Regions from separate parts of the Homo sapiens genome. Here all the other regions are linked to region 1. Evidence: promoter capture Hi-C in 16 types of primary human blood cells and fetal thymus (Javierre and others, 2016). All regions are on one chromosome and are shown on one strand. Each heading gives the region's core, a stretch centred on a gene start or on the middle of the fragment in contact. The rest is flanking DNA. Distances are from core to core; before and after follow the strand shown.

Region 1 (6,596 bases), core at 2,585-5,084:
AAGTTTGTGGAACAGCAAAAATGTGTGTGGAAAGGAAAACAGCCTCAACATAGAAGCTTTGTTGGGGACAGACTACAAAATAAATGGTAAAGTTCTGGCAGAACCTCTTGGGTACAATTCCACTGAGAAATAAAGGCAGAAACAGAAACTGTAGAAGTAGAGAATAAATAAAAAGGAAGTGATAGAGGAGGAGAATCATCATCAACAATATTAAAAAGAGAAAAAGATATGGAATGGGATTCAGTGGGGTTTGGATGGATTGTCTTTGATTATTAACAGATACTATGGACTTAGTTGGAAAATCCAGGATCATAAACTCTGCTAAGTTAACATGAATCATCAACCAATTATACCCTATACCTTGGAATAATATATTCTATGGCATTCCAGTTTCTTGGGACAACTCACTGAAATCCAGACTTTCCTGAGCTACAATGTATATGGTTTGAGATAAGTGTAACCCTATTTTCCAAAACCTGCCCTTCTGCTGCCAGTTGAAGCAGCAACGAAGTATCAAAAAAGCCTCCAAGTGAAAGCAGTTGTGTTTTTCCTGTACACTTTTTGTCTTCTGCTGTGCTTCCTCCACTACCCAGAGTGCAGGGGAAATTCCGCTTTTTATCTGAATAAGCCGGTGGAGTCTATAACTGAAGTTTGTCCTTCCCCCTATTCCTTTCTCCTCTGACATATGCCTCTGCTTATAGAATGTCTGTAAATGCTTTCATTTCCTTCCTTCACTAAGAGAAAAAACTGGAGAAGGTGAAGAGAAACATCTTTTTTTTTTTTTTGATGGAGTTTCACTCTTGTTGCCCAGGCTGGAGTGCAATGGCGCGATCTTGGCTCACTGTGACCTCTGCCTCCTGAGTTCAAGCGATTCTCCTGCCTCAGCCTCCCAAGTAGCTGGGATTATAGGCACGCACAACCATGCCCAGCTAATTTTTGTATTTTTAATAGAGACAGGGTTTCACACTGTTGGTCAGACTGGTCTTGAACTCCTGAACCTCAGGTGATCTGCCCGCCTCAGCCTCCCAAAGTGCTGGGATTACAGGAGTGAGCCACCACACCTGGCTTTTTTTTTTCTTTCTTTTGAGAGAGAGAGAGAGAGAGAGAGAGAGAGAGAGAGAGAGAGAGAGACAGGGTCTCACTCTGTCACCCAGGCTGTAGTGCAGTGGCATGATCATATTTCATTGCAGCCTGGAACTCCTGGGCTCAAATGATCCTCATGCCTCAGCCTTCCCAGTAGCTGGGACTACTGATGCATGCACACCAGGCTAATTTTTAATTTTTATTTTTTTAAAGACATGGGTCTCTCTCTGTTTCCCCGGCCGGTCTCGAACTCCTGGGCTCAAGCAATCCTCCTACCTCTGCCTCCCAAAGTGCTGGGATTATGGGCATGAGCCACTGTGCCCAGCTGGGAAATATATGTAAAAATATTCATCCACTCAACAAAATTTTGTAACTTGCTGAAGATGTGAGCAGAGAGATAGTCTGGAGGGGTGATGTAGGGGCTCTGGAATCAAACAGACCTGGATTTGAACTCTGATTCAAACATTTACTAATTGCCTAAATTACTGTTTGTATCTGTCAAATGTCTTAATTTCTCAGGGCCTCAGTTTCTTCGTGAATAAAATAGGGATAATAGCTCCTGTTCCATTTGGTCTTTTGGGTAATTCATGAAAATGGCTTGGGGGCATTCTCCATGATGTTATCAAATGGCAGGACTTTCTTCCTCTGCAAGAAGTAGTTTGCTTGTCTGTCATTAAGAGCACTGTAATAGCAAAGCCTAGAATCATCTATTCCTAGGAGATATTTTAGGCAGGATATATCCAACAATGTATTAAAAGCTTTACCTTGGAATGGTCTCAGTCTTTACCTCTGTTTACATCTGGTCATGAATCAAATTGCCAGCTTGCTACTTGGCAATGGCTTTGTCATAGAATACAGGAAACCTGGCTTTCAGGTCCCCAATGTATTCGTCCGTTTTCATGCTGCTGATAAAGACATACCCAAGACTGGGCAACGGACAAAAGAGGTTCAATGGAGTTACAGTTCCACATGGCAGGGGAGGCCTCACAATCATGGTGGAAGGCAAGGAGGAGCAAGTCACTTCTTACATGGATGGTGGCAGGCAAAGAGAGTTTGTGCAGCAAAACTCCCTTTTTTAAAACCATCAGATTTCGTGAGACTTATTCACTATCACGAGAACAGCATGGGAAAGACCCTCCCCCATGATTCAATTACCTCCCACCAGGTTCCTCCCACCACACAGGAATTGTGGGATTTACAATTCAAGATGATATTTGGGTGGGGACACAGCCAAACCGGAAGTAGAGAGAAAACACACTCAAAGTAGAGGGAAGAGCTGTCATTGGATATCATGGCTGTGATCCCCCAAGTTGTGTCCACAGTGCTGGGCAGTGGACAGATCTTTTGGTATGGTTCCCCTAAACTAGTAAGAGACTATGGGAGCAGGGATGTTACGTGTCTCTTCCTGAAGTTTTAAATTAGCCGTCATGGAGAAACCTCAACATGGGAAGGCTGATAACTCCATGCATGTTCTAGCTGATTATTAATTATTCTTATCTTGAGATAAAAATAATGGAATTTATCGGAGGTGGGGAGGGGACCCTGTTCTGATTGATGCCTCTTAAGAGTTTTCGATTATTGAAATTACTGTTTTCTGAAAAGAATCTACTTATTACTTTGGGAGTTTGGCAGGAACAAGGCTGCCTCCTTGATCTTTGGCCCCTCAATTCCCTTACAGGTTACTCGGTAGGATTGCTGTAAGGATTATTGCGGCAATAAAGTTAACACATCCCTTGTTTTTGAACCATTACCAGCTGTGTGACCTTGGGCAAGCCCTTTCACCTCTCAGCTAGTTTCCTCTTATGAAAAATGGGGAATAAATTTAAAACATGAGATATGCAATAAACGATCTAACACCCATGCCTGCTATACGGTTGCCTGCTATACAGTTAAGTATTCAAAAGAGGACGTACCCAGGGGTAGTTACTGTTAGCACAAGTCCTATGGATACTATGAAAAACAGGGACAGACCACCCAGGCTTTCTACAAACGAGTCAGTTTTTTGCCTTTGAAGTTAACCTCTAACCTTGTGAAACGGCGACAGATAAGGACATGGGGTTCAAGAAAACGGGGCATAGTGGAAAATCAGGGGCATTAGCACCCAACGATGTGCGTTGAAACCCTAGTTGTTTTTCTCCTTCCCAGTTGCTGAAATCAGCCCTTCTGGCCGATTCGCGGGGTTCTCACCGGGAAGTTGGGGCTGTCGCGACCGTCCGCGGGGCCTCGGGAGCTCCTGTGGGGCTGGGCCCGGGACCTGTCCCCGGGGAGGCCGCCCAGTTTGGGCGGCCCGGAGCGGGGCGCGCCGCTGGGAAGGGGCCGGGTCGAGGCAGGCAGGCGCCTGGGAGCTGGGGCAGCCCCGGGTGGTCGGGTCGCGCGCCGAGGCGCAGGCCGAGGGCTCGCCCGGGCCTTTGTTGGCCGCCGGAGCGGTCCCTGCACGCGCCGGGAGGATCTCAGCCAGATGTGGCAGCGGGGCGGCGGGGAGCAGGCCGGCGCCCAGAGCTGGGACCCGAGACCGCGGCTCCGCTCCGGACCTCGCCGTGACACCGATGAGCCGGGCCAGCCTCCCGAACGCTCCGCAGGCTGCGTGGCGGCGCCCCTAAGTGACAGTCGCGCGGGCCACTGGTGGGGCGCGGGGCGCGGGGCGCGGGGCCCGCGGGGCCGGCCAATGGCTGGCGGGGTCGGGGCGGCCCGGCGGGGCGGGGCGGGGCGGGCGCTCCAGCGGCGGGGGCGGAGCCGGCGGGGCGGGCGGGGCGGCCCGCAGCGGCGGCGGCAGCGGCGGCGGCGGCTACAGCAGCTCCGCCGGCAGCCGCGGGAGCACGGCGACGCCAGCGGCGGGTGAGGGGCTCGCGGCGGCAGCGGCGGCGCGCGGGGGCGGGAGGGGGCGCGGGGCGGCTGCGCGGAGGGCGCGGGAGTTGGGGGCGGCGCCGGCGGCCGGGCTGGCGGCCCCGGGCTGCGGGAGATCCACCTGCTGGTAAAGGAGCCTACTGCGCCGCGGCCCGGCCGGAGCTCTGTGCGGGGGAGCTGTTGGCGCCTCTGGGCGCGGGGCCGGCTCCGGGAGCGGCTGGGCCTCGGGGGCGGGCGGCGGGGCGCGGGCCGGGCCGTCCTCCCAGCGTCCCTGCCCCGCACCGCGCACCCCTCGGGGTCGCGCGCCCTCTCTGCGGCCGGCTCGGCGCCTGGTGCGTTCCTGGCGCTCCCCGGCGTGGCGGGGCTCGGCGACTTTGGGGGAAAGTGGAGCAAAGTGCTGATCCGGGGGGTGCGGAGGGGGAGGGACAGCTGCCTGTGGGACCCGGGGGCTGCGCGGGAGTCGGCGCTTTCGCGGGGGCCGCGGGGCAGGTGGGCGGGGCCGGACGGTCCGAGGCGCAGGGGCAGGGGCTGCTCCCGAGGGGACCGGCCGTGCAGCCTTCGCAGGGAATTTTCACACAAAGTGAAGGGCTGCGGGGCCCGCGTGAAAGAGCAGCCCCCGTTTCCCCAGGCCTCAGCTCTCTCCGTAATGAGGAAGCTGCAGTAGGACCCTGAGGCTGGGTCTCGGTGACTCCACCAAGTGTGCCAGGTGACATCTCGGAGGCGAGCTTTTCTGAGCTGGCAGTCGAGCCACTTGCACACCCGCCTTTATTCCTCGCAACAGTGTGTTTCTCTGGAGCGGTTTCATTGCCTACATTCCGCATTGGAAAATAGAAGCAGGCACAATGTATGCTTTGAATGCTTTCCACGTATTTTGCTGTTGTGCTTTTGCTGTTGGACAGATTATTTGATAAAAGATAATGACAGTCGTTCGTTGGAACGTAGACTGTAAATTTAGAATAAAAATATGCGTTTTGTGGTTTATGTTTCTTTTTCTGAATGTTTAAAAAACAGTTTGATGAACAGGTTATCTTGACATAGATTTCTTTAACCCACACGTGTAAACCCGAAAACGCACTGGGCGATGACATTACGTAAGCTGTATTAAAGAAAACTACTGACCCGTTTATAAATGGCAAATAAATGAATTTTGCCACAATTGTGGTGTGTAAAGTTATATAGGCTTACGTCATGGATTTTATTGATTCCAGATATCAGGGATTATTGTGCCTTTCATTCTTAAGTCACCTCTACCCTGTCTGTGGGATGCTGATTAAGGAAGATGCCAAACGTTCGGCAAAGTGTTCTCAGCCGTGGACTATATTGAGTATTTCAGAGAACACTTTAAAATAAGTAAAGGTTTTGTATCCAATAATAAAATGAAGACTGAAGCCCTTAAAGGATTGCTAACAAAACAGTCTGATGTCTAGAGTTGAAAGTTCCATTCACCTTTGGGAGGGTGGAGAAATGACTAGCAATTTTAGCCACTACCTTTTTTTGTTGTTGTTAAAGATTCAAACGTGTTAGATTATAGTCTCCGAGAATATTAAGGGGCTAGATTAAAATTTTTGCAAATGTGGACACTAATAAAAATGTGGGTCACCTGTGTCTTACAAGCCAGCCTGTGAATTATGTCTCATAATTGAAGAGTGAGTAGATCCTTGGTTTTACTCTTGTCCGAAGAGTTTCTTCACTTGTGCCGTGCAGTTAAACTTATTAGCTGGGAAACCCTAATTAAAAATGTATGACTACATTCTTACTGAGTAAAACACGCATATTTTTCTTGCAAAATTTCAGGGCTTATTTGCTAGTAGAATTTATTGTAAGTATCTTCAGAGTTTCATAACTTACTGGATCCAGTATTTTTTTTTTTTCATATATTAGGGGTAGTATATCAATAGTTTACTTTGGTTTTAGAGTTCATTTACTTGTCTCTATGCATTTCTACGGAATGTTTTTACAAGCTTTATTTGTATTTAGTAAAACTTTTAAAATATCCTTAACTATATGATGTGCGCTCTACCTCCCCGTTATTATGAATTGAGTGCTTACTCTAATAACCTGTATGCTTTTTAGATCTTTTACTAGAACAAAATTCTTTCTCAAGTAAAATAGGGCTAAGTAGATAGCAGCTGAAAGTTATAAGTATTTTAATATAATGCCACACCGGGATTAATGTTCCAAGTTATATAATTCATAGAATTATCACCCGTGTTTTTATAATCAGAATTCATTATTGGGTGCTTATTGATTTAAGACAATTAGAGCAGTCTTGCTATGAAGTTTTTTTTTTTTTTCAAACTGAGTCTCTGTCACCCAGGCTGGAGTGCAGTGGTGTGATCTCGGCTCACTGCAACCTCTGCCTCCCAGGTTCAAGTAATTCTCCTGCCTCAGCCTCCCGAGTAAGCTGGGATTACAGGCACCTGCCACCACTCCTGGCTAATTTTTGTATTTTTAATAGAGACAGGGTTTCGTCATGTTGGCCAGGCTGGCCTTGAACTCCTGACCTCGGGTAATCTGCCTGCCTCAGCCTCCCAAAGTGCTAGGATTACAGGCATGAGCCACCACACCTGGCCACTGTGAAGATTTTAATTCTAAACTGTAGACGTGGGCATGTTTGATGTTAACTTGTCTTAACTGTAGAAGGTGAATAAGTTCAATCTTAGAGAACA
Region 2 (6,596 bases), core at 3,150-5,649, 120 kb after region 1:
CATATTAAGAAAAATGAACTGACAACAGGATTTAACAGTAAATCTGCAAACATGTCCTGAGGACAATAAATGTTGGGCCCGATCTTCTGTGATTGTCTACAGAACCATACGGTAATCATGAAAACTAAGAATGGGGCAAAAAGTTATGATTCAAAAGGCTTTAGAGAACTTCAGTTCATAGACCTATGTAACAAGATGCTGGGCCCCACCTTTCTTCGCTCTACCCTCCTGCTGGTAACCCACAACCTGAAAGCATGGGAGAAGAGGAGTGAATGGTCTTGGATTCCTGCAAGTCATCTGGAGATAACCAGTATGGTTTAACATGTTTCCTTGAAAGTATAAAATCTGTTATATACCAGCTAGGCCATTTTCTAGCTGCATGACCATGGGTAAGTTGCTTAATCTCTCTGCCTCAGTTTCCTCATTTGAAAACAGAAACAAACCTGTGTAATTGTCATGAAGATTAAATGAGATAATGCACATAAAATACTTAGGATAGTGCCTGTAAGTGTTCCATAAAAGCAGCTGTTTGTACTACTGTTACAACTTTCCCCCTCTTGCTATGTTCTCAACCAAAAACATTTAAAAAAATTACTTACCACTGTATCCCAGGAAAGTTACATAGATATAATAGCCAACTGCAACCAACCATAAGGTATTTCCAACTAAATATCCAATAAATGTGTCTGTCAGGATAACATCTGCCAGAAGAGACGCAGACCATGAGTCCCTTTACCAATGCATGCAATGAAGACTTGGATAATACTCTAATTAACTGCTACTTACGGTTGATGAAAAAAAGCTGGATAAAATGCAAAATGACCAGGAGTGGATAAAAAGCATTGAGATGCACATCAAAAGCATAGCCCCATTCCACATCATAGTCTCTGCTCTGTCGTTTCACTAAATACTTGTTAGAGATGAACCTAAGAGCAAAATTAAAATTTCTTTCATAATAAAATGAATTCTGTAAATGTTTACTGACGACTTTCTATGCGGCAGACATTCTAAATTCTGGAGATATACCAGTAAACAAAACAGACAAAAATCCCTGCCTTCCATCTAGGAAGGAAGGCTGACAATGATACACCTATGTCAGATGGTATTATGGAAAGAGAGAAAGCAGCAGAGAAATGTGGAGAATACAAACTTGAGATGCAATTGTACATATGAGGGTCATAAAGTAACATTTGGGTAAAGACCCAAGGATAGTGATGGTGCCTGGCAGGCCTGAGGAATGGTGAAAAGACCAGTGTCTGAAAGAAAAGGAGCAAGAAATGAAGCCAGAAAAGAAACAGGGTTGGGCCCAACATCAAGTCACACAGGCTCCATGTCTTACGAAGCCTGTGGCCGTTTTACAATCTTTGGCTTTTATTCCTGGTGACGTGAGAAGCCACTGTGGAGTTCTGAGAAAAGTATTTGACTTAAATGCCTTGACAGAGCCTCCCTGGTGGCGGATCTGAGAACAGACTCCAGAGACAAGACTGGCAGCAGAGACCAGTTAGAAGGCTACTGCAAGGAAGAGATGAGCAGAGGGGCTGGTGGCAGTGGAGGTGCTAAGATGTGGCACACACGATACTCTGAAGGTAGAGCTCCTGACATTATTGGATTGGAGTATGAGAAAAAAATACTCAAGGATGACTGAGAGATTTCTGCCTTGAACAAATGGAAGATGGAGCTGCCTTTAATTGAGGTGGGGCTGGCTGTGGGAAGAGTGGTTTTGAGGTGGGAAGGAGTGTGCGGAAGTTTGAATTTGGACCTGTTATGTTGAAGATGCCAACTAGTATGGAGTAAGAAGTTGTATACAATGTCTAGAGTTTAGAAGACAAGTCCAAACTGGAAATATAAACTCATCAGTGTGTAGATGATATTAATATTTAAAGCCACGGGCCTGAATGATGTCACCAAAAAAATGAATGTGGATAATGAACAGGCCCAAGGCCCAAGACCTGGGTCAACCCCCTATTAAAAGGAGGATGAAATAGTAAGAAGCAGTTAGGAAGAGTGACGCATCCAGCCATAAGAACAATTATTCAAGTGTATGTCACTGTTCTACAACATGGCCTACTAGTTTTTCAGTTCAATGATGAATAAAAAGTAAAATATCCAAGTAACAGAAAAGTAAGATCTTCAAAGAACAAAACTTGTATTATAAACATATATTGGAAATTCAATGTATTTTTTAATGTATTATTTCATTTCATCTCAAGGGTACAATTAAGAATACGCTATTCCGTCACTGGGGATAAAAATGGAAAATAAACAGAGGTACAATACTAATGTTAACAGTCCCTGCATTTCGTTATCTGAAAATGCCAAAACAATACTGAACAAACTAGAGCTTACCAAGACAGTTTCCTTTTTAGCCAAGAATGTGTGCCATTCAAATTTTATGGAATCAGTATGTAGCTCGCTCCCCAAGAGCGCCCTTTCTGTAGACGTTCTCTGCTGCCCCTATTCTCCCGCTTATCCCAAATGGGCGCTTTTCAAGCTTCTGGCCTCAGTGAGAGTCTTTCCTCTGAAAGACAGATGTGCCTTCCGAGAGCACTCCAAGGCACTGTGGTTTTCACCTCCCAGCTCCATATTAACGCCAGTCAGAGGCTCATCATGGCCCAGACTCTTGCCTCTAGGTCTAGAGTCATCAACCTCAGTGTCTACTGACCTTCTTTTCACTCTTCAGGAAGCTCCCTGAACTCAACAGGCCAGCAAGGGCTGCTTCATCTGCATCTGCTGCTTCCTCAGTCATCTAAGCCAAAATCTTACAGGTCATCCCAAAGGAGCCTCCCACCCACTCCCTCTTCCTGATCCCCCCTCATACCTTGTTATCTCAGGAAGCTCTCGAATCCATCTCTCCTCTCTATTCCTATCACCACCATACTATCTGGGCCTCCTCTACTCCTACGCAGACCTCTGCAAGTGTATCCAGCCTTGCCCACTCACTACTCCAACTTTTGCCTCCTCCACTGCCATGGAAAAGATAGTGTGAGTTTGACATTATTTCCTTACTTTAAAGCCTCAAAGCTCCCCACCTCCTTTTGCCCCCAACCCACACATGCAGTCTATGAGATAAAGTCCAATTTTTTTCCTGAATGGCATGAAGGCCAATTTCTCTAGTCACATCTCTTCCCCAGTGACTCGGTGTCACCCTATGCTCCCAGACCTAGTGTGCTGTTCACACCTCTATGCCATTGCACTTGCAATTCCCAGCACCAGGAGTCAACTATTCCCCATCTCCACAAACCACCACCTTATGCTGGCTTCTGTAGCTCCTCTGTGATGGTCATCATTACATGTAGTCATTTCTCTTTCTAGTTCCTCACACAACATAGGTTCTCAAAAATACACTGAATCCCTTTCTATTTAATTCAAACTATGATACAGACTCACATGAAATGTGCTAAACTCCAGGCTGATTTGGTCCCCTTCTGTGCCTGATATTGTTTGGCTGTGTCCCCAAAATCTCATCTTGAACAGCAATCCCCAGAATCCCCACGTGTCAAGGGTGGGGCCAGATGGACGTAATTTCCCCCATGCTGTTCTCGTGATAGTCAGTGAGTCTCACAAGATCTGATGGTTTTATAAGCATTTGGCATTTCCCCCACTTGTACTCACTCCATCCCGCCACCCTGTGAGGAAGGTGCCTGCTTCTCCTTTGCCTTCTGCCATGATTATAAGTTTCCTGAGGCCTACCTAGCAATGCAGAACTGTGAGTCAATTAAACCTTTTTCCTTTATAAATTACCCAGTCTCAGATATTTCTTTATAGCAGCATTGAGAACAGACTAAGACAGTGGCCTCCAGAATTACTGCATTCAGGGCAGAATGCTTGTTATGAATGAAACTATTCCTTTGAAAGTCTTATTTATTGAAATTTTAAAACACACCATTTGTTTTTCATGAATTTCTTGGTAATGAATACGTGACTTACATTAGTATTAATTCTAGGCCAGATTTTAGAATTTTATATTAACAGTGGACAGCATTTATTGGCTAACTAGCACATACAAAAGCTCTGCTGTACTAGTCAGAAGTTACAAAGGAAAATACAGGCATATGTCATTTTACCACACTGCACTGTACTGCGCTTCACAGAAACTGTAGTTTTTAAATTTTTACGTATTGAAGGTTTGTGGCAACTGTGTCCAGCAAGTCTGCCTGTGCCATTTTTCCAGCAGCATATGCCCACTTCATGTCTCTGTGTCAGCATTTTTAAGCAATAAAGCATTTTAAATTAGTCTGTACATTGTTTTTTAGAGCCATAGTGCTATTGTACACTTAAAAGACTACAGTACAGTGTAAATATGATTTTAATATGCACTGGGAACCAACACATCTGTGTGACTCAGTTTATTGTGATATTTGCTTTACTGCAGTATCTGGAATGGAACTAGCATATCTGAACTATGCCTGTAAAAGGGTGGTATTGGCTGGGCGCGGTGGCTCACGCCTGTAATCCCAGCACTTTGGGAGGCTGAGGCGGGAGGATCACCTGAGGTCAGGAGTTTGAGACCAGCCTGGCCAAATGGCAAAACCCTGTCTCTACTAAAAGTATGAAAATTAGCCAAGTGTGGTGGTGTGTGCCTGTAATCCCAGCTACTCAGAAGGCTGAGGCAGGAGATTCGCTTGAACCCGGGAGGCGGAGGTTGCAGTGAGCTGAGATCACACCATTGCACTCCAGCCTGGGTGACAGAGTGGGACTTCGTCTCAAAGAAAAAAAAAAAAAGGCTGGTATCAGAAGTTATAGTTGCAGAGTTTTGCTTAAAATATTAGTAACTACCAAATATTGAACACTTAACTGTGTCAGGTAATTTTCATAACATAATTATCTCAAAAATTGGACAGAATAGGTAATTAACTAGATTTTGTAAAAGAAGAGACTGGGACTAAGAGTTTCACAGATAACTAAGTTGGCATTTGAACCCAGGTCTCTCTGCAACTAAAATGTTCTCCACAATGACCACCATGTCTACCCAACCACTGGTCCTCTACTGAGATCGCTAGCCACATCCCCTGCCCTTCATCCAGCATGCCAACCACACAGGAGGACTTTACCAAACACCAGATTTATCCTCAGTACACTGCTGTTGCTAAATCAACCAAAGTCAGACTGAGAACCCTTCTGATAAAGCCCGTGTGTGTGTGTGGCGGTGGGGGGGCGGGGGGGGCGGAGGGTGTGTGTGTATGAGAGAAAGAGAGAGAATTTTATTCTCAGTAGGAAGGCATGAGAAGTTTAAAAAAAAAATCCTTCTTTTTCAAGTATACTTCATTTAATGCAAAGATTCAAAGTAAGACTCCACAAAATAACCCTTTAGATCTAAATGGATTTAAACACAATGAATATCAAGAAGTGGTCTCTATTGACAAATGCAGAAAACCATGCTATCATCCAGACAACTTAAGCAGAACTGGCTAAATCTGTAATATTTTTGCAAAACCAGGCATTTTGTTAGTATGCAGAAAATAAATCTCGGGACCCCAAAATCACTAAGCCAAAGGGAAAAGTCAAGCTGGTAACTGTGTCAGGCAAACTTGCCTCCTATTTTATTCCTAAGATAGCTTATCTTTACAGGTGTGGGACAGAAAGTCCTCCTTCTACTCACCTGAGACAAGTGTTTATCTGATTGCTTCCTCTGCCCCATTGTTTATGTAAAAATGCAGACTCACTGAGCCAGATTAAGGCATAAATGACTATTCCTGTACCTGCCTCTCACAAGTAAATTGTGTATTCAGTGAAAGGCAGATCAAAGACTCAAAAGAATGCAACCATTTGTCTCTTATCTAACTGTAACCTGCCTTTCCCCACTTTCTGGATTAAAACAATGTACATTTTACACATATTGACTGATGTCTCAAGTCTCCCTAAAATGTATAAGAGCAAGCTGTGCCCCGACCACCTTGGGCACATGTCATCAGGACCTCCTAAGGCTGTGTCACAGGCATGTCCTTAACTTTGGCAAACTAAACTTTCTAAATTGAGACCGATCTCAGATATTTTGGGTTCAAAACATAATTATTTCAATTATTTGCTACATTTGACAATATTATAAACCAGCCTTTATAGTATTTTCTGATATAGGTGGCAACACAGGAGGGAAAATTGTAATAATCTTGGCAGTCAAAATTGATCATTTAGTAACTCTACCTGGGTTTCAATTTCCATCTGCTGCTATTGTACCTCTGAAGCAAACAAATGGAGATGCTACAGCAGTATCTGAAAAACCAAAGTTATGGTACTTACCACATTAAAGTTGCTATCAGAAGACCAACGCCTACACAATCTATGAGTACAACCCAAAGGAGAAGCTTTATTGTCTCAAAGAATCCCATGTCCAGCACAAAGCCAAATCCTATAGTGGACACTGAAAGAAAGATTCACAAGATTCATTTAGGGACTCTGCTAGGTTCTGGAAATACAGGACACATCCCTTGCCCTCCAGATGCCCAGGCTAGTGGGAGAGACAGGTCTTTAAACAAAACTCCCAAGATGTGTGAACACTACCTTGGGACACAGCGTGGCCACTGAGAGAGTTGAAGTTTCCTGAGGTGGGCCCTTGCCAGGCTGATTCACCACGGTGGCCTCAGTATTTAGAACGCCAG
Region 3 (6,596 bases), core at 2,145-4,644, 100 kb after region 1:
GGACTCTCCTGCCAGCTTCTAGTCTAGGGCTGTGGCATCTGCCCAGGAGGGTCAGGCTGCCAGCATCTGTCCTTACCCCCAACTCTGTTGCAGAAGCTCTGTTCCAGACAAGAGCAGCTGATGAATCTGGGCAGAACTCTGCCCTAGGCACAGCAGGGTGAGAATACTTGGCCCTGATCACCGATGTCCTAGCTCACTGCCCCAGTCCAGTCAGTAGCAGAAGCCAGCCAAGAAAACCAAGGCTTGGCTGGGCGCAGTGGCTCATGCCTGTAATCTCAGCACTTTGGGAGGCCAAGGTAGGCAGATCACCAGCTCAAGAGTTCAAGACTAGCCTGGCCAACATGGTGAAACCCTATCTCTAGTAAAAATACAAAAATTAGCCAGGTGTGGTGGTGCATGCCTGTAGTTCCAGCTACTTAGTAGGCTGAGGCTGGAGAATTGCTTGAACCCAACGCAGGAGGTGGAGGTTGCAGTGAGCCAAGATTGCACCATTGCATTCCAGCCTGGGCCACTCTGTCTCAAACAAAACAAAACAAGACAAAAACCAAGGGCTACTGCCATGACCAGTGCTCTGATCCTAAAGCAAGGTGTCACTCCAAGAGAAGGGGCTGCTGTCCTTGCCAAGGACCCAGAGCAGTGGTGCAGAGATTGTGCCCAATGGAGAGGCAGGCCAGAAGAACAGAGAGCTCTGTAGTTCTCCCTAAAGAGGAGATGACTTACTTGAACCAGAATGTGGGGAAGTTCAGCCTAAGGGTGCTGTGGAATACAATGGAAATTTTAGTGTTAAGCAATTAGAGATGTTAGCTACAGACAAGCAAATTTGGATCCCAGTGGAAAGTTTAACAGGGAGAACTAGGGAAAGAGATGCTAGTAAGAGCCCTCTTGGCGTGCAAACAAGCTGCTGTTGAGACGGGAAAAGTTCCCTTACCCACCTTTCAGGGCGTGTGATGGGGGTGTGGCTTGCTTCTTTGGTGCCCTACTGCTCAAACCCCTAGGGGAGCATGCAGAAGGGCAGGCTGTGGGGCTCTGACCCCATGGCAGTGTCTAGGGGTGAATGTTTACAGCTCCTGAGGTCCCAGTGGGCGCGTGTTACAGGGTGCTCTTTTAGTTTAGCTGTCCATAGGTGGCTTGTGTTTGTTAGCTCAATTAGACCCCCTGCCTTTTTATTTATTTATTTATTTATTTATTTATTGGAGACAGAGTCTCGCTTTGCCGCCCAGGCTGAAGTGCAGTAGTGCAATCCCGGCTCACTGCAAGCGCCGCCTCCCGGGTTCAAGTGATTCTCCTGCCTCAGCCTCCCGAGTACCTGGGATTACAGGCGCCCACCACCAGGCCTGGCTCATTTTTCTATTTTTGGTAGAGGCGGGGTTTCGCCATGTTGGCCAGGCTGGTGTTGACCTCGTGATCCACTGGCCTCGGCCTCCCAAAGTGCTGGGATTACAGGCGTGACCCACCGCACCAGCCATTAGACCCCCTGCCTTATCACAAGGACAGAAGCTTTCTGTATCCCGGGGTCTCTTGCCTTGGTGTACCGGATGAATTGGATCACACGTGGGCTTGGAGAATGAGTGCCAGGTTTTATTGAGTGGAAGTAGCTCTCAGCACATGGGGGAGCCAGAAGGGAGATGGTTTTCCCCTGGAGTCGGGCTGCCTAGGCTCTCCTCCGACTGCCCTGGCCAAATTCTGCGTCATTCCGCCCATCGATGGCCTGCCAGCATCCGCGGGTGTGCTCTTCCGCCCGCCCGTGTGCTTCCTTCCCCTCCACGTCCAGCCACTTGTGTGCCTGCCTGCTAGGGTCTCAGGGCTTTTATAGGCACAGTATGGGGACGTGGCAGGCCAGGGTGGTCTTGGGAAATGCAACATTTGGGTGGGAAGACGGAAATGCCTGTCCTCACCTAGGTCGGTGGGCACAGGCCCGAGGTTGGAGCTCTAGCCAGGGCTCATGACCTTCTCTACCCAGCACTTCCCTGCTCCCCTTGCATGTCGCCAAGACTGGCCCTGGAGAGGGGCCTGAATTTAAATGGGATCAGACTGGGTAGCAACTTACGCGTGAAGGCATTGGCAAGAACAGTAGACCATCAGCTGGCCATCAGTGGAGACCCGAGGGTTGATGGCGTGGGGGTTAGAAGAGTAGAGCGTGATAGCTAAGAATGGTCTTGTGGAAGAAATACTAGTTCTATTTCAGTGGGTTAAAGCTGCGAGACGGCAGAAGAACCTTCTGCAGAGACCCAGTGGGAGAAGGAAAGGGCCACTGGTCAGGCATGGCGGGCGGAGGGGAGCCACGGCTGTAGCCCTTGGCCGTCCCTGTCAATGCCAGGAGTGTGGGGTTCCAGTCACTCTGGTAATTTCCTTCACTTTTTCTCTTCTTTCCTGTCTTAATACTTACCTTCCAGACCATTGGGTTAAGGACAAAGGTTAAGTTTGTAGTTTGAAAAGTCATTACACACACACAGTACCAAATACAAATTTAAAAGGGTAGTCTTAAGTCTTCTTCCCTTTTCTTCTCCTACCCACTGCTTCTGAGAGGCAGTTCCCGTAATGATTTGTGTCCCTTCGGGAGTATTGTATGCATAAATAACAATATCTGGGTATGTTCTCTAAGAACAACACATCGTCACACACAAATGATACGCCCTATAATCCAGTTTTACATCTCTTTTTTTCATGGAACAAAATGCCTATGTACGTATGGAACATGAACATTTAAAAATATTTTAATAATAATAATATGCTGAGTACCTGTATCCACCCTCCAGCTTAAGATGTGCCAATTCAGCTGTCCGTCCCTAATAGCTTCTCTTCTCTTCCCCTTCTCCCCAAAGCTATACCCTAATAGCTTCTCTTCTCCTTCAACACCTGAATTTTATGGTTACCATTTCCATTTTTACTATGTATGGAATATATTCCTAAGCAATGCACAGTGGGATTTTGCCTGTTTTCACGTTTGATATAAATATCTTTCTGTGGTCTACAGTTTGGTTTCTTCCCCCTCACAATTGTGAGATTCATCCACGTGAGTGTGTGTGTTTACGACTCATTCTTTTTCACTCCTCTATGGATGGATTCTGTGGACAGCACGATCTGTTCTCTGGTCATAAAGTTTGTGTACATGTTTTTGCTGTAATAAACATGGCTGCTTTGAACACTTGTGCACATGTATGAGAGTTTCTCTACAATATAGACTTAGGAAGAGAAGCAAATCTTCAACTGCATTATCTTCAACTTTTTCTTCATTATTTGATTGATTTATTTATTTATAGATGGAGTCTTGCTCTGTCGCCCAGGGTAGAGTGCAGTGGCACAATCTTGACTCACTGCATCCTCCGCCTCCTGGGTTCAAGCATTTCTCTCTGCCTCAGCCTCCCAATTAGCTGGGATTACAGGCGCAGGCCACCATGCCTGGCTTAATTTTTGTATTTTTAGTAGAGACGGGGTTTCACCATGTTGGCTAGGCTGGTCTCGAACTCCTGACCTCAGGTGATCTGCCTGCCTCAGCCTCCCAAAGTGCCAGAATTACAGGTGTGAGCGACTGTGGCTGGCTTATTCTTTTTTATTTTTTCTTCGACTGAAGAAATTGGCTGCCTAAAATTCCCTTGTATCAGCATATTGTAATTTATTTGGCCAGGCTCCTAGTGATGGATACTTAGGTTGTTTGCAATCTTTTGCGGTAGTGTATGTACTGTTCTTATACATGGGAGAGGATAAATTGCTGGGCAAGAGTGTTTTGATGAACTACTTATCATTTGGTAATTATTTTTCTAATGAAATGAGCTCATCAGGTGACAGTATTCAATGTCACATTGGTTAAAATGTTCCAAGTTTTGCAATATTTTTAAGATCTGAATCCCATGCCTAATTCAATATTCAATAATAATTTTTGGTAGCACCTACCTGCTACCCAAGTCCAGCACCAAGTATGGACAAACTTCTATGAAATAAGTTTATTAATAATTTTTGAATAAAAGCATTACTTTGGAGGCTCATAGGTTCAACATTTACAATATAAATTAGTACAAGCCTGCTCTGCTGTGGTTTTCAATCTGAATGTACCTTATTTTATTATTAATCTATTAACTATGCTGTGAGACTGGACAATGGATTGCATAATGTAACAGCATGTGGTCAGCAAACTACGGTCCATGGGGCACATCTGGCCCTCCACCTGTTTTTGAATAGTCTGTGATCTAAGAACATTTTTTAAAAAGTCATCTTTTTCTTTTTTTGTTTTTAAATGGCTAAAAAAGTAAAAAGAATACATTGTGCTATGTGAAAATTATATAAAATTCAGATTTCTGTGTCCATAAATAAAGTTTTTTTGGAAGACAGCCATGCTCATTTTCTAATGTAGTGTGTGCGTGTGTGCTTCTCTCCAACAGCAAAGATGAGTGAGTAGGTGCAGGAGAGATCGAGGTCATGCTCTCCCGGCTTTGCACTGCTGCTTAGAGTACTGCAGATCACAATGATGCATTTATAATTGGACAGTATTTTGAGAGCCACACATATCATGGCACTCTGACTTAAAAAAAAATTACAAGTACTTATCCATCATCAAAACAAGAAAAGTAGATTTTGAGCATTGTGGCTTTTAACACTGTAGAATGTGGGTTATGTTACAAAATTGTTGGCAAGTCATTGTAGTTATTGTGCAGTTATGTGAGAGCTGTACGTTATTAGGCTAAATACAATGATACTCCCAACTCACAGGAAAGCAGTGGTCAGAAAAGTTAGAAACTTTAGAATGGAATATCTCATCACAGCAGAATTTCTTCACTAAAAATAAAAATGAGGCTGTTCCCAAAGTGGTATTTCAAGTGGCTTATTTTTTAGCTAAGCAAGAAAAACCACTTACCAATCACGAGTTAATTAAATCATGGTTAATAGCAGCAGCCAAAGTAATGTGTGCAGAGAAAGTAAACTTATTTAAGGATAGGAGGCTTTCAGCAATAACAATTGTTTGAAGACTTAAGGACATTGGGAGCAATATCAGTATTCAAAAAACAAAGCAGATTATTTTGAGTGTTTTTCTTGGCTCCTGAGGAATTGACGGAGTTGTCACTGGTACTGCTCAGTTATTACTTGGAATCAGTGCCATGGTTGAAGACACTGAGGGTTGGCCCCTGTAAATAGTCTGTTTAGAACAACTACAGAGAAGAGTATTTTCACACAGGCTGAGAAAACACAAATTCAGTACAACCTGAAGTAGAATCTGCTAAGATGTGCTTAAACAAATGGTGCTAAAAAAAAATACTTGTGGAGAAGATGGCTTAGTTGCATTAATTTATAAAGCTTGAAAAAAATGTAAGGTATTTAAAGCCTATGGTTATTTATTTTATTATTCATCAGCCAGGTACTTTGCAGAAAAGATTTGAATGTGTCATATGTCATTGAACAAAAGTGTCAACAGTGAACCTTATTCACTCTCATGGACTTAGCCATCACAAATGCTGTGAATTTTTGTCAGAAATAGGAACTGAATATCCTGACTTGCCCTGCCACACAGCAGTTCAGTGGCTTAGCAGTGGTAGAGATTTACTGCAGTTTTTTTGAGTTCAGGACCAAGATTGAAATTTTCCCAAATGAGAACTTCCCTCAACAGCTATTATCACTTTGAAAATTCGTTTTTGCTAAACTGGGCATGGTGGCTCACGCTTGTGAGCCCAGCACTTTGGGAGGCCGAGGCAGGTGGATCACTTGAGGTCAGAGGTCCAAGACCAGCCTGGCCAGCATGGTGAAACCCCGTCTCTAATAAAGATACAAAAATTAGCCAGGTGTGGTGGCACATGCCTGTAATCCCAGCTGCTCGGGAGGCTGAGGTGGGAGGATCATTTGAACCTGGGAAGCAGAGGTTGCAGTGAGCCGAGATCGTGCCATCGCACTCCAGCTTGGGTGACAGAGTGAGACTCTATCTCAAAGAAAAAAAAAAGAAAACTAGTTTTTGCTGCAGACTTAATATTGTTTCTTAATGAATTCAACCTAAAATTACAAGACAAAATGGTGCTTATATGCAAAACTAACATTGCAGTCAAATCATTTTAATGACAGTTAACATTGAACTTGAAGCACCATCAAGCTCTTTATACATTTCTCATGCTTTCAAAAGTTAAAACAGGAAGCAAGATCTCCATCCCACACAAGTTTACGGCAGATGCACTTTCCAAGCTCAAACTATAGTCCCAGCAGTGGTTTTGGACCTCAATACAAATGAAAGAGAAATTTCCATATCTCAAAATCCATTTAATTGAGGAACTTCACCTAAATCTCAATTGGAAATGATTCATCTGCAGTGTAATAATATACCGGAAGGCTAATAATATACCAAAAGGAAAATCAAATAGAATTCCATAAGTGCCTCCCAAGGGATGCATGTGCCCCATTAAAATCGTGTGTTTGTGGATTGATATCAGTATTAGGCAGCACCTAGGCTGTGTGAAAGAACGTTTCAAAGATGTATATAAAATATCATTATCAATCAACAATAACAAGGGAACATTTGCAGTCAGTTTTGATTATAGGGAACACTAACTTTGAACCCCAGTTAAGTGAAATGTTATACTCCCGAAAGGAATTATGTTCTTCTCCTTGGTATACCTATATTA
Region 4 (6,596 bases), core at 2,396-4,895, 73 kb before region 1:
TCCACAGTGTCATGCTGCACTGCAGTTCTCAGCTGGGGCAGGCATGGGCCCCAGCAGACATTGGCAGTGCCTGGAGACATATTTGATTGACACCGCTGTGGTAGGGTGGGGAAGGGAGGTATACCAGCATCTAGCAGGTAGAGACGCTGAGCATCCTACAGTGCACAGGACAGCTCCCCACAACAAAGACCTATCCAGCCCAAAATGTCAGCAGTGCCAAGGCTGAGTAACTGTTGTTTGCCACTCAATGAATAAGTTAAAATGGGGAGGAAGTGGTTTTATAGGACAGTCATGAGGTCATACCTCTTAGTAAGAGATGGTATGTGATGTAGTGAATGAAAATTAGAGATCAAGAGGTCTGTGTTCAAATCCCAGCTTTGTTACATATTGGCCAAGGACCCTGGACAAGTCACTTTGTTCCATAAGACTCTGTGGTCCCATATCCAAAATGGGGATTGAAAATATCCTTACGTTGCAAGGAGGGCTGTGAGGGTCATTATGAATATGATACTGCTCTGAAGACAAAGATGGAATAAACCTTAGCTGTGAACATTTCTTTGGTCGGGAGAAACTTCCCTACCTGACTAGTGCTGAGTGAAGGAGGGCCCAGATGTAATAGAGAAAGGGAAATCTGAGCTCCAAGGACAATAGCTGCCCCTGGAATGGATTACTTACTCTTCTGTTGGCCACCCTAGACAGTTCTTGTAGAATTCCAGCAGTTCCTGGAGATCTGAGATGGGGAGACAAGGAATCTAAGGTGAGGTGTTTGTGTACATTTCAAAGTGTAAGTAGAATAATTTTTCACCTTTTTCTCAATCGTGCTCTAGCTCAAAGTTATTTTTAAATAACAGTGCCTTTCCCTCCCCATATCCTTGTGAGGTCACAGTTATATCAGCTGGTTGGGAGCGGAGACCAGCTGTCTCTGTGGAGGTAGAGTGGTCATTGCCTCCTGCCGAGAGGCTAGCTTTAATTGCACAGGCAGCGGCAGTTTAGCAAGTGTGCTTTCAGTCCAGCTCCTCCACTGACAACTCTGTGCCGTTGAGCCCGGCCCTGGCTCCCCGGGATCTCCACTATGAGATGTGGAGGTTGGACCAGGCCACCCTGGGATGTCTGCCAACCTTGACATGCCAAGTGCTGGGCAGCTGTCCCAGAAGTCAGGAAAAGAGCCTGGTAAGGCATCTGCCCCTTGGGGTGCCCCCAATACACATGGCTGGCCAGATTCCTGGCCTCACTCCACACACCCAAACACAGATGTGACTCAACGATTGTTTTTTCTTTATGAATGCCTTCTCACAGATGTTACCTGTGAGCAATAGATCCCCAAAGCAGGTATAGTTGGGGCCCTGACAACAACCAAAGCAGACCCCAGGGCCCCATTTGGGAAAAACTCACATCAGTTTCTACTATGGGGACCTGAGCAAACTCCTGCCCTGGGACAAGGACTGACACTCACCCCACCCCATGATGGATATACTACCATATGAGGCCCTCGTAAATAAATGCTGCCACTGGGAGACTCTCTGTCTCCCTCAGCCTTTTCACCGGGGAAGACGGCCCCTCTGGGCCCTCACTCCCTCGCCTTTTAATGATAGAAGCGTGCTACCAGGGCTGTTAAAGCAGCAGTGGCTTTTGTCTTTCTGCCATGTGGAGTTGAAGCTTGTGTGAAAAGAGATATGTGGCCCAGCGGGAGGCGGGTTTCTGAGCATCAGTTGGGAAATTCAAACCACAGAAAGCCTGGCCTGGGAAAGCAGGAGAGCCGGCTGAGGAGCCCTTGGCAGTGCCTCCTGACCTGGGAGTCAGGTAAGGGATGAGGGCAGTTTGGCCCTGGCAGCCCCATGCTGGTGGCTGGGAAAGAAGCTTCCAGAAACAGTGTCCTTCTGTTTGCCCCTAGGCTGCAAAGTGAGTCTGTGTGGAGTCAGATCCTCTGCACTCGCTGAGTTGTGCAATTCCACTTAGGAGAGGAAGTGGAGCAAGAGGAGGGGAGGCTCTGGAGGGTGGAGGAGGAGGGAGATTGTGTGGATGAGGGGAGGCAGTGGTTAGAAAAGGCAAAGGGGGTGAGGCCCTACGGAGGGTGCACTTGAAGCTGTGGGGTAGTGAAGCGGTGGAAAGGGTCTGCTGGTGAGGGCATCCGGGGCACCTTGCTTAATTGCAGTGTGGAAACAGCTCTGGGTGCAAACTTGCCTCATTTCTCTATGTGCACAGGGAGCTAGGCTCTTCTTCCTGGTCACTCTCAAGCACCTAGTGACTCCTGTCTTAGGGGGGGTTTTGTTATTTGTGTGCTTTTACTTCTAATTGAAGAATAATATGCATACAGAGAAATGCACAGATCCTATGTGTGTAGCTCAGTGCATTTCCAGACTGAATACACCAGACCAAGAAACAGAATGAGACCAGCACCCCAGAGGCCCTGCCGTGTCCCCTTTCAGCAGGCTCTGGAACTCATTCCTGATTGTGGACCATGGTGGCTGTCAGAAGATCCTCTGGTCCTGATGGCTTTTGCAGGAGAGCCTGTCTCCATGCACTGGAGAGAAAGATTCAAAAAAATCATTCCTGTCTAGACTCAGCACCTTCCCCAGGGCCTGGCACCTAGTGGGCACCCACCAGGTCCAGTCCGTTCTCATTGTCTAAGGAAGTTATGCTCTGAGAAGTCACTGCAAGCTAACTTAGCAAGTACTGAGCCACTGCTCCTGGAGGAAATGCAAGGTTAGCTTCCTGTGTGTCTCCTGCCACAGCATCAATAGATCAACACATAACCTTGTTTTAGGTGTAATTCTGTTTAAAGATGCTTTATTTAGTATATATTGTTGACGCATTGACACCGAACACACAGCCAACGGCACTGTAACTCAGGCCTGAATGAAGCTTATCTGAAACACACATTATCTCCATCGGGCACATCACAGCCTCCTTGGGCTTAGGAACATTAGACAGCACATCAGCACTCCACTTGGCAGCCTAACCAGCAGAATCACCAAGAAAACCTAGTGCCCCAAAATGTGGCACTGAGTAGACTACAAAAAAGATACTGTATACGGTGTAAGAGCTAAAACAATAAGGCGGCGCATCACTGCTTGACCTCAGCTGGGAACTTGCACATTGGGAAACTCAAATGTTTTGCTGCCCTGCACGTGTTTGCAAATGACCATGCCAACACCATGCATATTGATTTTGGGATTACAAATGTATTTTAGCGAGTAGGCGAATTCTCAAATATGGAGTCAGCTCACAGCGATGATTGACTCTATTTGTTGAATGAGGAGAGGAAGGAATGGCGGTAAGCTTAATTTAAGGTGGAACTGGGACACAGCACCGTCTCCTGTCATTAGCAGTGGGGGCCTGCCCTGAAAAGCTCTTGCTCAGTCTCAAAATGCTCAGCATGGTTTTGAGAAGAAGACTTGGTTGAGCATTACCACCCTGAGTTCCACAGTGAGATCACACAGCCTGGCTCTGGGACAGATCTGATGACGAGCGACTGTAGACGTTGCCAGCATGTATTGATCAGGAGCAGCCTGTGAGTCAAGACTGACAACAGATCAATAAATGGCTTTTAAAAAGCAAAACCCCTCAAGCTGTTTATCTAGGAAGCCTGACAAACCCTGCCGCAGTGGTGTGGCCCCATGTGTCCCCAGGGCCTGGGGCCCACCTCTGCCCCAGAAGTCCTCTTAGTGTCTGTAGACAGGTCCCATTTCCACCAGGTCAACCAGGGCTGTGGCAGTGGACCTGGATGGCAGGCAGAGCAGAGGACCGCTGTTCTATTTGTTGAAGCAACGAGGCACAGTGACTGTTCTAGCACAGCTGGCTGTGAGAAATGGCGATGATGGATCCACTTTAGATCCGAAGTCTTAGCAAACTCAGGCCTCTTTTCCACAGAGAATGTTGTGAAGACCTGGGAATGAGCTGTTGATGTGCATTTTTAGGATGACAGCATAATGGAGAAAATTGGAAGTAGCATATGCCAAAGTATGAAGTGTTCACACAGCTCCCTTGGGTTGTTGATTTATGGGAAGCTTTTTTCTCCTTTATACTTTTATCTACTTTCTAAATCTGTACAATATGCTTGTGTACTTCTATGAACAAGAAAGAAATGTTATGAAAAGAAAAAGTTTCTTAAAAATTGCTGCATCAGGCCGGGTGCAGTGGCTCCCACCCATAATCCCAGCACTTTGGGAGGCAGAGGTGAGAAGATCATTGGAGACCAGCCTGGGTGACATAGCGAGACCCCATCTCTACAAAAATTAATTTAGAAAAAAATTAGCTAGTCATGGCCGGGCACAGTGGCTCATGCCTGTAATCCCAGCACTTTGGGAGGCTGAGGCGGGTGGATCACGAGGTCAAGAGATCGAGACCATCCTGGCTAACATGGTGAAACCCCGTCTCTACTAAAAAATACAAAAAATTAGCTGAGCGTGGTGGTGCATGCCTGTAGTCCCAGCTACTCGGGAGGCTGAGGCAAGGGAATCCCTTGAACCCAGGAGGCGGAGCTTGCAGTGAGCCTAGATTGCGCCACTGCACTCCAGCCTGGGCAACAGAGCGAGACTCCATCTCAAAAAAAAAAAAAAAAAAAGCCAGGCATGTGGCTCACACCCATAATTCCAGCTACTCAGGAGGCTGAAAAAGTTGCTACTTCAGAAAGGACACCATGTACCAAATTTTTCAGAGGCCTGGAAATCTTGTTGCCTTACCTTAAGGCAGAGCCTGTGCTTTATATCCTCAGCCAAAAGGCAAGCAACCTGGGAATTTACATTGTACGACAACTCGTTGCCTCTCAGGAGACTGTGCTTGACAGCCCTCAGCTTCCAGACTTAACAGCTGCATCCCTAGTGTCATACGGGGTGTGGCCCACCATTGGGGTCCCACCCTGGGCCCCTCAACTCGTCATAGCAGAAGTCCTTCTGAAAGAAAAAAACAATACCTTAAGGCTGAATTTTAATAGGCACTAAAAGAACTAACCATCACCTATCAGAAAGTCAAAATGAAGTGATGAGACGAATCTGTCCCACGTAGGCGTAGTTGAACACCTCTAGAAATGGTTTAACATTGAGGATTTTTGAAAGGGTTCATTTTAGATCTTCCCGAATACAAATAGCTCAGTAATAATGCCAAATGTGGGTCTGAAAACTTTGTCATCCTCTCCTACAGGAGAGTTCTGTGTGGAGGTATTTTAAGAGTGATTCCTGGGAATGCAGATGAAAACGGCTCTCATCTCGGGCAGTGTGTCCTGCATCCGGGATGGCCAGGCTCGCTGTAACACACAGCGTGTGCATGGAGGAGAGAGCGCCGCCGTGGATAGCGGGACTGCGGTGCACACTGGTGTGGCTTGGGCCAGGCTCCTCCATGATGCAGCGCCAGCAGGGCAGCCCCGATCAGACCCGCTGGCTCTCACACACTGTGGCAGACGTGACCAGGATGAGGCGCCTGCCCTTACAGGGCTTGCAGGCAGACTGGCACACACAGCATTGAGATGGTCTGCTGGAACCCGTGGACGATGTTCTCAGGGAGCCAAGAGTCAGCCTGGCTGCCTGACCCTGCAAGAGGCTGGGGTGCAACCCATTGCTTGCTGTGGTTTTCTTATCACAACAGCCACGAGGGCTCGTTGTCATGGCAGAATGGCTCTCTGGTCTCCATCAAGCTCCAGGGTAAGGTTTGACCAAAATTCTCCACCCCTCCTCCAGCAGGAACAATAACAACACTAGCAACAAGCACATAACAACAGCAGCAATTGTGGCAGCAACTAACACCACTAAGGGCTTTCCCTGGATTCTCTCACAGAATCTTCACAACCACGCTGGGAAGTGTAGACAGTGGATATTTCACCTGATCTTCACCAACCACGCTGAGAGGTATAGACAGTGGATATTTCACCCAATCTTCACAATCACACCAAGAGGGACAGTGGATATTTCACTTATCTTCAAAACCACACTGAGAGATATAGACAGTGGATATTTCACTTCACAACCACACTGGGAGGCATAGGTCGTGGATTATGTCATGGAATCTTCACACCACACTAGCAAGTGTCTACACCTGCTACAAGCATACAGTTCAGAGAGGCCTCCTAGGCCCCTGCCACAGAGCAGAGTGGCTCATCACACAGCTGCTCTGCCTGTGCTCACTGGGGACAAAGGCACAGCTTCTTTGAGGCTCAGCACTGTGGAAGGTGATGCTCAGCCCATCACCCCTTTCTCAGCTTATCTGCTGAGAGGCTCCAGGTGGAATCTCAGGCATCTGTGAACTACATTATGGAGCTGGAGTGGGTTCTCTCTCTTTTTCCTGGTGTCTAGACCCCCATTTGCCATTCCTGCACTCCTCTGCCAATGAGGGTGGCCCTGGACAGTCCCTGTAACAGGGCCTAGAGATTACAAGGGCCCTCTTGCATTCCTGACAAGGAAAAAGGTGAGAAAGAAGAGAATACAGAATAAAAGGAAAGACCAGCAGTTGCAGGGAAAGAGGCAGGAACCAAAAAGGAGAGAAATGGTGGTGTGGTCATAAGCTGGCCCAGTGCTTGGCGATGCTGCTATTGCAGGTTACCTTATCCCACAGCAGCATGGCCTGGCCCAGCCAGGGCACCCACCCACTCCCGTGGGTCTGCATGT

The links. Contacts are between HindIII fragments. The CHiCAGO score rates a contact against its expected background, and 5 or more counts as called.
Region 2: a fragment that was not itself captured here is called in contact with the fragment with the promoter of MGAT4A in region 1 in 5 of 17 cell types (non-activated CD4 T cells, total CD8 T cells, activated CD4 T cells and 2 more); the score reaches 9.7 in non-activated CD4 T cells.
Region 3: a fragment that was not itself captured here is called in contact with the fragment with the promoter of MGAT4A in region 1 in 1 of 17 cell types (non-activated CD4 T cells); the score reaches 6.0 in non-activated CD4 T cells.
Region 4: a fragment that was not itself captured here is called in contact with the fragment with the promoter of MGAT4A in region 1 in 11 of 17 cell types (total CD8 T cells, non-activated CD4 T cells, monocytes and 8 more); the score reaches 10.5 in total CD8 T cells.

Annotation. Positions count from the first base shown.
Region 1 is chr2:98,728,370-98,734,965 of GRCh38, reverse strand. MGAT4A (alpha-1,3-mannosyl-glycoprotein 4-beta-N-acetylglucosaminyltransferase A) reads left to right here and starts at 3,834. Exons shown (of 16, transcript NM_012214.3): 1 at 3,834-3,918. It overlaps LOC107985922 (a long non-coding RNA gene), which reads right to left and starts at 3,685. Exons shown (of 2, transcript XR_007087150.1): 1 at 3,271-3,685. RefSeq lists silencers at 2,886-3,180, 3,287-3,476, 3,497-3,826. The HindIII fragment of the contact is 4,047 bases long and covers 1,844-5,890 here.
Region 2 is chr2:98,610,537-98,617,132 of GRCh38, reverse strand. UNC50 (unc-50 inner nuclear membrane RNA binding protein) reads right to left here. Exons shown (of 6, transcript NM_014044.7): 3 at 6,238-6,358; 4 at 787-926; 5 at 600-701. Among named protein-coding and RNA genes, the nearest start is that of UNC50, 5.2 kb to the right of the region's middle. The HindIII fragment of the contact is 3,811 bases long and covers 2,494-6,304 here.
Region 3 is chr2:98,626,707-98,633,302 of GRCh38, reverse strand. The region is part of intron 14 of MGAT4A (alpha-1,3-mannosyl-glycoprotein 4-beta-N-acetylglucosaminyltransferase A); the gene reads left to right. Among named protein-coding and RNA genes, the nearest start is that of UNC50, 21 kb to the right of the region's middle. The HindIII fragment of the contact is 3,789 bases long and covers 1,500-5,288 here.
Region 4 is chr2:98,800,967-98,807,562 of GRCh38, reverse strand. All of the region lies in intron 7 of CRACDL (CRACD like), which reads left to right. Among named protein-coding and RNA genes, the nearest start is that of LINC02611, 32 kb to the right of the region's middle. The HindIII fragment of the contact is 728 bases long and covers 3,282-4,009 here.